Linked DNA regions of Homo sapiens: all the other regions are linked to region 2. The links are contacts of gene promoters, found by promoter capture Hi-C in human tissues and cell types (Jung and others, 2019). All regions are on one chromosome and are shown on one strand. Each heading gives the region's core, a stretch centred on a gene start or on the middle of the fragment in contact. The rest is flanking DNA. Distances are from core to core; before and after follow the strand shown.

Region 1 (2,988 bases), core at 96-2,595, 67 kb before region 2:
TGCACTTTTGATTTAGCATAATGTAATCCTAGCATAAGTGTATAGGTTAATGTAAGGTAATGCACCTGGGGAGAAATAATATTCCACAGATATCTAACAGGGAAGGCTGCTGTTTAAGAAACAGCAATGTAGTTTCCTCCTTCTTTCGAAGAAGGAGTAATAGTGAGTAATTACTTAGGGTACATATGAGCCCATAACATCACCACTGCGAAAAAGGACTGATGCTGTCTTAGGCTGTATGTACAAAAGGATCTCTTAGAAAATAGAAGTGGTAATAAGTGATAAAGGAAACCCCTGAGGCCAGGCGTGATGGCTCACACTTGTAATCCAAACACTTTGAGAAGCCAAGGTGGGAGGATCACTTGAGCCCAGGAATTTGAGGCCAGCCTAGGCAACATAAGGAAACTCGCTCTCTACAAAAAAATTTAAAATTAGCCACTGTCATGATGCATGCTTGCAGTTCCAGCTATTCGAGAGGCTGAGGCAGGAGGATCACTTGAGCCAGGAGGTTGAGGCTGGAGTAAGCCAGGATGGCACCACTGTAGTCCAGCATGGGTGACAGAGTGAGACCCTGTCTCAAAATTATTAATTAATTAATTAAAAAAGAAATTGTGCCTTAATTGTTCTTGTGAGTGAACGAAGACGGCTCACCTTCCCGAAGGCGTCAGTGGCTTCCTCAGAGCCAGATGCCGCTCTCCAAGGCCACGCTTCAGTCTGGTTCCAAAGAGCATTGCTGCAAGTGGGTTGGAACGCTGGTGCCTTACCCCACATGCCCTGCCCCCTCTTGCAGATTCAGGCTTGCTCGTCCACATTCTGCTTCTGCTGGGTGTCATTCTCCTTTCCGTCCCTGCTACTCTCTCAGAATGCCTGCCCCGGGTTGGCCACAGCTTGTTCCACTTCTTTTTTTTTTTTTTTTGAGACAGAGTCTTGCTCTGTCACCCAGGCTGGTTCAGCGGTGCGATCTTGGCTCACTGCAAGCTCCACCTCCCAGGTCGAAGTGATTCTCCTGCCTCAGCCTCCCGAGGAGCTGGGACTACAGGCGCCCATCACAGCATTCCGCTAATTTTTTTTTTTTTTTTTTTTTTTTTTTAGTAGAGACCAGGTTTTACCATGTGGGCCAGGCTGGTCTCGAACCCCTGACGTCAGGTGATCTGCCCACCGTGGCCTCCCAAAGTGCTGGGATTACAGGCATGAGCCACCGCGCCCGACCTGTTCCACTGCTTTCTGTGGTTTCAGGCTGCCCCTCACTGGCCTCTTGCTGCAAATCTGCGGGCAGCTCGGCCATAACACAGACCATCGTGGGAAGCTTGGGGCTCAGGTGGCTATGGGGTCTCCGATGAACATTTTACTACAGGGCGCTAGTCCGTTTATACTTCATGTTCCTTGTTTCCTTTTTTTAATTGGTCGCAATTATTAAGAAACATTACCCTGAAAGACACACTGTGATGTGACTGTTGAGTTGAAAACAAGGACCAAATAATATTCTAAACTGAGAATCTTGCTTAACTTCTTCCAAAAGAGGTAACTCAGCCATAACAGTGAAAAATATGATCTTCTGGACTTGTTAGCAGAACAGACCACTGAGGCTTACTCTCTGATGCCTGAAGCAGTCAGGCTCCTGGAGAGTTTGGGCTAACCTGGCCCTCACCCCTCCAAACGTCATTCCCCTTCCAAAAGAGGATTTCTCAAACTCTGGGAGAGGAAAATCGCCAGAGGACTCCTCAATCCTCTGAATATTTTCATAGCTTTTACTCTGTCAGCTTTCAACAGGAGTTCTACAGGCATTTTGCGTGGGAAAGTTCTCGGTTGTGAAGGACTGTCTGGCACATTGTCGAACATCAGCATCCCTGTACTGCACACAGTAAATGCCAGTTTGTAGCCTAAGGCAGATAACAAATGCTGCCATACATTTCCAGGCACTCCCTGAGAGGAAGGTGCTGCTTATGGTTGGAAACCATTGGCGGTGCCTGGGGCCAGAGTGTGAGAGCAAACTCTCCCACGCCTTTGTGAAGCTCAGGGCTTTGGAGACAGCCTCCACCTATTTGAGGGTCCCTTCTATGATTATTGAGTTGTGGTGTATAAGCTTCCAGCGAAATGGCTAGGCTAAATACACACTCTGTAAATATTTGCTAATTAATTGTCATGTCTTGCTTATTATTATATGCTCATCGAGACCAGAAATTTCACATCCTCTATGTTGTGAAAAGCCCTAGGAAGACTTAATGCAATGCCATGCTACTGGGAAGCACTCAGGAAATATTAATTGCTATTGATGAAAGGAGCGACTACTTTAATTCAGATGCAAACAATCAAAAAGGGCTAACTCCCCTTGGCTCTGTGCCTTGACTGCATTTGGAGAGACTGATTAATATAGGCCTGCAGCTAACTAATTGTCTCTCCATCTCTGTCATGTTACCTGAACTTGGGTGCATTCAGGTCACCCAGCAGTTGTGTGGGTGGGTGAGAACATTTCTCGAGCTGTAGCCAGAGAGCCAGACGATCTGCAGCAGCGCTAGACTTGTAAGAATGGAAAACTTCGTAAATATCCCAAAGTAGTAGAGAAGAACCAGGCCAGGTCAGGCCAGGTCAGGCCAGGCCAAAAGATAGGGGCATCCCGAGAGGCTGGGGGGCCACAGGGTGAGGTATGTGTTGCAAATCCCAGAACCTGGGCATTAGTTAGAGCCAGGAAAGGAGTTGGAATAGGGTTGGGGCCAGTGGGATGCATCCCTTTCCCAGCCGCCAGACTCCTTGGAGCTCTAGTTCCACCTGAAAATTTGATCATTGTCTTGCTGCGTGCAGGCAGGATAAGATCCATGAAGAGCAGCAAGGATCCAAATTTCCATCATTCTCAGGAAGTCAGAATCCGGGGTCTGACTCCTTGCCCGTAGGTAAGGCATGGCAGGTTTATTTCCCAGGATGATCTCTGAAGTATCAGGAAAAAAGTCCAGTGCAGGACTAAAGCTTTAAAGAGAGTGAAAGCCACTGCCA
Region 2 (3,066 bases), core at 148-2,647:
GGAAGAGTTCATCTGGTGCATAGTTTTTTCTTTTTAAACTTAAGATGATAGGAAAAGCTGAAGAAAGTACCACCTCAAATCTACATCTTATGCAATCTTATCCAAAGTAATTTGGATACATCGGGATCCATGTTCTGTCTCTCCGATCTCCTATTTAGAGACACAATAGAAGATAATTTCTGATCCTGGGCTACACTCCACTGTTGCAACGTGATGGGCAGTGGTTCTACTTCTCCAGGTTAGAACCTCTCAGGGGAGTGGCTCCACCTTTAGGGACTTTTCTGTCCTGTGGGCCCATCTGATTTTATCTCCTCTGAGCAGGTGCAGGATGCCCAGGGGCCATGTGGAGAGGAGACGGTGCAGCCCTGGGAATCTGGGGCAGGTGACCTCTTGTCCTGGCCTGTGAGGCCGGTCCTGTGTTCTCTGAGGGGTCAACCCTCTGCGTAAGTATGCTCTCAAGGTGTGGCCTCAACCAAAAAAATAAACAAGATGAAGCCTCGAAGTTCAGCTCCATTGTGGCTATTGTGTTTGTACCAGAGACTTTTGTCTGGGAGCTGGCAGGAGTCTTGAAGCCTGGTGTTGCTCTGCGTAAGCTGCTGAAATGACAAGGGGACAGCTCAGCTCTGGACAAAAAACACCTCCCTGGACGCTAAGATATCATGCTTTACCCCCAAGTCCTTAACGAGGATGGAGAAAACCACAGAGTGAATGCTGGAACTGCCCGGGACGTTCCCTTCCGCACTCAGTAGCCCCCAGCATCAGCCTCAGTCCTTTTCATTTTAATCAGTCCCGTAAGCCAGCCTCTACCTTTCAAAGGAATCCGAGGAACCTTCCTGCCAACTCTGAGCTCCTGCGACACTCGAGGATGTGGGCCAGGCTCTTGTGTAGGTTAAGGAAGTCTGAGAAGAATAGAGATTATAGGAAACAGTCTACCTTTCTTTACAAGACCTTGTTTTGCATCCCTGAAATTTCAGATTCAGCTCTTACAATGAAGTCCTGTTGTAGAAAGAGCTGGCCTTTTATCACCACTTAAAATCTAATTAATCCATACTGAAGCACAAAGATTTCTGTTGTATTTTAGGGTGAGGGGTCATAGAGCCCTCTTTGTTCATCCTTAGACTTATAATCATCAAGCATTGGGGATATAATTTTACCAAATTGGAAGGTAACAGATCAAGTCCTTATCAGAAAGCCCAACTCATAGTTTTAACAGAGTCCTTCGTCCTTTACGTGAAACATTATATTCAAGAAGAACAAAAACGCATTTCAGAGTGCCCAAAGAGTTAATGACCACAGCTTATATTCCAGGCAGCATAGAACCAAGATTGTCACATTACCGTCAACCACAAAGGACAGCAGATCCTATAGGGGTGGCAAAGTCCTAAGACCTGTCGCAATGGCTTTAATCTTTAGAACAGCAATGCAATCTGTTGGACTTTTACTATCTCTCCTGGGATGGATTTTATCCATTATTACAACTTATTTGCCACACTGGAAGAACCTCAACCTGGACTTAAATGAAATGGAAAACTGGACCATGGGACTCTGGCAAACCTGTGTCATCCAAGAGGAAGTGGGGATGCAATGCAAGGACTTTGACTCCTTCCTGGCTTTGCCTGCTGAACTCAGGGTCTCCAGGATCTTAATGTTTCTGTCAAATGGGCTGGGATTTCTGGGCCTGCTGGTCTCTGGGTTTGGCCTGGACTGTTTGAGAATTGGAGAGAGTCAGAGAGATCTCAAGAGGCGACTGCTCATTCTGGGAGGAATTCTGTCCTGGGCCTCGGGAATCACAGCCCTGGTTCCCGTCTCTTGGGTTGCCCACAAGACGGTTCAGGAGTTCTGGGATGAGAACGTCCCAGACTTTGTCCCCAGGTGGGAGTTTGGGGAGGCCCTGTTTCTGGGCTGGTTTGCTGGACTTTCTCTTCTGCTAGGAGGGTGTCTGCTCAACTGCGCAGCCTGCTCCAGCCACGCTCCCCTAGCTTTGGGCCACTATGCAGTGGCGCAAATGCAAACTCAGTGTCCCTACCTGGAAGATGGGACAGCAGATCCTCAAGTGTAAGACTCCGACAAGGCCAGAGATGTATCCTGTATCAACTGTGATGACAAAGACCTCTTTGTTTTGTAGCTAAACCTGTGATGCTCACGTTTTCTCATTCACTATTTTTCTACAGTAGGTAGACCCACTTCCCTCTAAAATCTGAATAATGAAGGAAAAATCTTTTATCTAAAAGAAAATGATTATGGTAAGCATTATACAGGTAGAAGTGAAACAAGCTTCATTGATCTGGTTATTGAAATTAATGTGGTGGCTGTCCAATACAGTCAGTTTCAAGCTTTAATGTGTAAATTTCATATTAGAAAGCTTTTTTCTGTTTTTCTTTTTTTTGTTGTTGCTGTTGGTAGTCAGAAATGATCTTTAGTTTCTGTTTCCTAAAGAAAAAAACTAACAATCTGAAAATTTTAAGTGTTCTACTTTAGCAAAACCACATGCTAAGCCAACCTCAAAGTGTTATTTCCACAACAATGACCTTTTTCTTCTTTGAACAGAAGTGGTTTGTTTTTAGGATATTACCAGGCACTCAGTGCGGCAAGATTTTATGAGGCTGAAGAGTTTTCAGTACCTTGTGATCCTCTCAGATTTAAAATGGTGGCCAATCTCTTCTCTCATCCTTTCCCTCAAAACCTTCGTATTAAAAAAAGAAAAACAATTCCAAAGACATTTTTCTTGATATCCTGATATTGTCAGGTCATTTGAATAAAACCTTTCCTTTGTTCAATGAAAAATCGCTAACATGGGGATATCTACTTTAGTGGTGAATAAACAGAAATGCTGACTCCAACCTGCAGAGTCCAAATGCTGAACTTTCCTCGGCACAGAAAGCATATATAAGAAAAAAAAGTGTTTATGCACACAAGCGTGAATTTGACAGAAAGGCATGCAGATAAATAAACTAGATCTGTAGTTCAGTATTGCTTCATATGCCATGTGGTATATGTAGCCTGAGGAATTTCTGAAACGCAGGAGTGAGTTAAGGTGTAGAGAGATTTCTGATAAGATTGATTTAT
Region 3 (3,198 bases), core at 263-2,762, 95 kb after region 2:
TTTGACCCATTATTTAGAAGTGTATTACTCTAGAGTTCCAAATTATGTAGCTTCCAGGTTTCTTAGAAGTACAACATACACACTGAAAGTAAAAAAACTTTAAGCGTAGCAACTCAGCGAGTGTCCTCGAAGTAGCAACAGCCAGGTAATGGCCAACAGCTGAAGAAACAACACATTATCAGAATCCTAGAAGCCACTCTTGTGCCCTCCAAATTACTAAACCTTCCCTTTTCCCTAAAAGTAACCATTATCTCAACGTTTAGGCCTGTAAATAGTTTTGTCTTTTCTGAACTTAATATAAGTGGACTCATACAGTGTGTACTCTTCTGTGTCTAGCTTCACCCACTCAACACTGTGCTGCTGCATGCAGTTGTGTACGTTGATTTGCATTGCTAGATGAGCTTCTACTGCATGACCATACACAATGCATTCATCCATTAGGCTACAGACACATACTTCCAGACACAGGCTACACACTACAAACACTCTACTCTAGGGTGGAGCTGCATGGTAGCAGGTGTGCATGCACACGTTCAGCTTTATTAGGAAAGGCCAGTTTCCCACCAGCAGTAAAGAGTTCCAGCTGCCCCACATCCTTAACGACGCTTCATATTGTTCGTCTTTTGGATTTTAGCTTTTCTGAAAGGTGGGAAACAGCTTTGTTGTTATTTTTTAAATGAATTTCTAACAAATTCACTACAGAGAATGTGGTCTAACCAATACTTTGAAATATATTGAAACAAGTCTAATGGCCCAAATATGGTCAGTTTTCCTGAATGTGCTAAATGTGCTTGAAAAATATTTTTGCTTCCCATTTTTCCCCACCCCAATATAGCATAGGCTCCATGTTGTATACATTAATTAAATAAAGCTTGTCAACCACGTGTATTTACCTATTCTATACTAATTTTTAAATCTGCTTGATCTATCAAATACCAAACGTTATATTGGAATCTCTCACTATGATTGTGGATTTTCTGCCAATTTTTGCTTTATATATTTTGGGGCCCACATTTTAACGGACACATTACAGACTCATGGTCCTTTTTCTTCGGTAAAGCATTTTGCCATAAAATCTATCACTTCTGACATTAACAAAGCTTTATTTACTTATTTATTTGTGTATACCAGCGTTTTTCTGTTAGGATTTGATTGGTATATCTTTTTCTTCCCGTCCTTTTAACTTTTCTGTATCTTTGTTGTTAGGTGTCTCTTTAAGTATCATATAGGTAGATTTTCTTTCCAAATCCAGTCTTTTAACCATTGTATTTTTAACTAGAGCATTTAATCCAATTACACTTAATTCTAATTATTGATACACTGAGATTTACGTTTATCATCTTATATTAGACTCATTTGCCCTGTATTTTTTATTCTTTTCTCTCCTCTCCTGCTTTCTGTAGTAATATAGTGAACAACTGATGCCATACATTACTCTCAAATTTTGTCTGAAAATGTCTTTATTTCACCTATATGTATGGAAGATGTTTTGCTGTGTATAACATTCTGGTTAATGGTTATTTTCTCATAGAACACTGAAGGTATAAGAAAACACGATTGGTATGAAAAAATAAGCTATTACTTGCTAATTTTGGACCTTTGCAAATAATTCCCCACCAGCTTTGATTTTTAATTCATTACGTGATTAATTTGTAGAACTTCTACTTAGTTTGTTTCCGTATTTTCTTGATAATTTTCATGGTATCTTCCTTACTTATATTTCCAATCTCTTTTTTTATTTCTTAAAAACATGTTAAACATGGATATTTTGTATTTTCTCTAATTTCTCAAAAATCTCAAGCATCTGAAGATCAAATTCTATTGTCTGTTCTTTTTATCCTGCCAGTTCTTTGTTCTCTGTACATCTGTGATTTGGGCTATGCGTTCATACTTTCCTACTGAAAGCACTAGTTGAAGGTGTATTACTCTGGAGAAGACGTGCATCTGCAAGTGACTGGAGGCACAACCATCTGTCACTGCTTCAACTGTCACAGCTAAGTGTTTAGCTTGGGCTTTTTCAGACCATCCAGGTAAATGTGAATTCAGGGGTATCTGATGGTGATAAATCCAACGGTCCCAATGTTTTTTTTCCTCCTTTATCTACCTAGCATTGTTGCTCTAGATAGGCAACCTTTCTTGCTGTCTTCAACAAGTAGTGGTGGTGGTGGTGGGAGGTATGCTAGGGTGGTTGGGCTGGCTGAATTTAATTCTAGTATTCTTACACTGAAGGTTTAGTGACTGTCTGAGTCCCCACTTGATGCAGCTGGGGTCTGTCACCATGAGACCAAGAAAGGGACACAATAGAAGGGAATATGCACCTAGCTTATCAAATTTCCTCAGGGCAAAGCCAGCTTTAGTGTTCTGCTTACTATTCTGAGTTCTGAACCCGGTGTACAGTCTCTATGAAATCTTTCTTTCTACCTTATCCAGACTTGCATTTATCTTCATTTATATTACATTCACAATTTTTAGTTATCACTAGAAGGAGACATACAGTGTGGACATATTGTCCACTGAATGGTTGGATAAAAAAAGTCCCCTAATGTTGGCTTTTTGGTGCTTTCTCTCTTCTCTTCTTGTGAAATCCTGACAAAGCCTGATTTGGTGTTTTTTGTTTGTTTGTTTTCTAGCTTTTAAATATTGCAGAGCTATTCTATTGTAACCATTTTAAAATTTTCATTAATTATTGTCTTTATCTCTATTTCTCCCTGTCTTCTTTCAGTTTAGTCTGTTCCTTAAGATTTTTAATGCAAAGCTTAGTTATTATTAGTATTCTTCTTTAAGCCTATATAAATTCCCTACTAAAAACTGCTTTAGTTGCAGCCTACAAAATTTATATGTATTTTTATGACCACTTAATTCTATTTCTATATTTCTATTTAATTTTGTTAACCCATGCATTATACTGAAAGTATGTGTAAGTTTCCTGTAGACCAAGGCAGGTGGATTGCTTGAGCCCTGGAGTTTGTGACCAGCCTGGACAACATGGCAAAATCCTGTCTCTACATAAAATACAAAAATTAGCCAGGCATGGTAGTATACCACCTGTGGTCTCAGTTACTTGGGAGGCTGAGGCAGGAGGATCATCTGAGTCTGGGAGGCTGAGGCTGCAGCGAGCCGTGATTCCACCACTGCACTCAGCCTGAATGACAGAGCCGAGACCCTGTATCAAAAAAAAAAAAAAAAAAAGAAAAGAAA

What was found. Contacts are between HindIII fragments. The study calls those that stand out against the background at their distance.
Region 1: a fragment that was not itself captured here is called in contact with the fragment with the promoter of CLDN24 in region 2 in 2 of the 25 tissues and cell types used here (H1 embryonic stem cells and aorta).
Region 3: a contact is called between a fragment that was not itself captured here and the fragment with the promoter of CLDN24 in region 2, in 2 of the 25 tissues and cell types used here (heart left ventricle and mesenchymal stem cells).

What each region holds. Positions count from the first base shown.
Region 1 is chr4:183,387,860-183,390,847 of GRCh38, reverse strand. No RefSeq gene overlaps it. Among named protein-coding and RNA genes, the nearest start is that of CDKN2AIP, 55 kb to the left of the region's middle. The HindIII fragment of the contact is 6,122 bases long and covers 1-2,988 here.
Region 2 is chr4:183,320,757-183,323,822 of GRCh38, reverse strand. CLDN24 (claudin 24) reads left to right here and starts at 1,397. Exons shown (of 1, transcript NM_001185149.1): 1 at 1,397-2,059. The coding sequence starts at 1,397. The coding sequence ends at 2,059. WWC2 (WW and C2 domain containing 2) reads right to left here. Exons shown (of 23, transcript NM_024949.6): 23 at 3,046-3,066. The HindIII fragment of the contact is 4,220 bases long and covers 1-3,066 here.
Region 3 is chr4:183,226,087-183,229,284 of GRCh38, reverse strand. The region is part of intron 4 of WWC2 (WW and C2 domain containing 2); the gene reads right to left. Among named protein-coding and RNA genes, the nearest start is that of WWC2-AS1, 13 kb to the left of the region's middle. The HindIII fragment of the contact is 3,146 bases long and covers 1-3,085 here.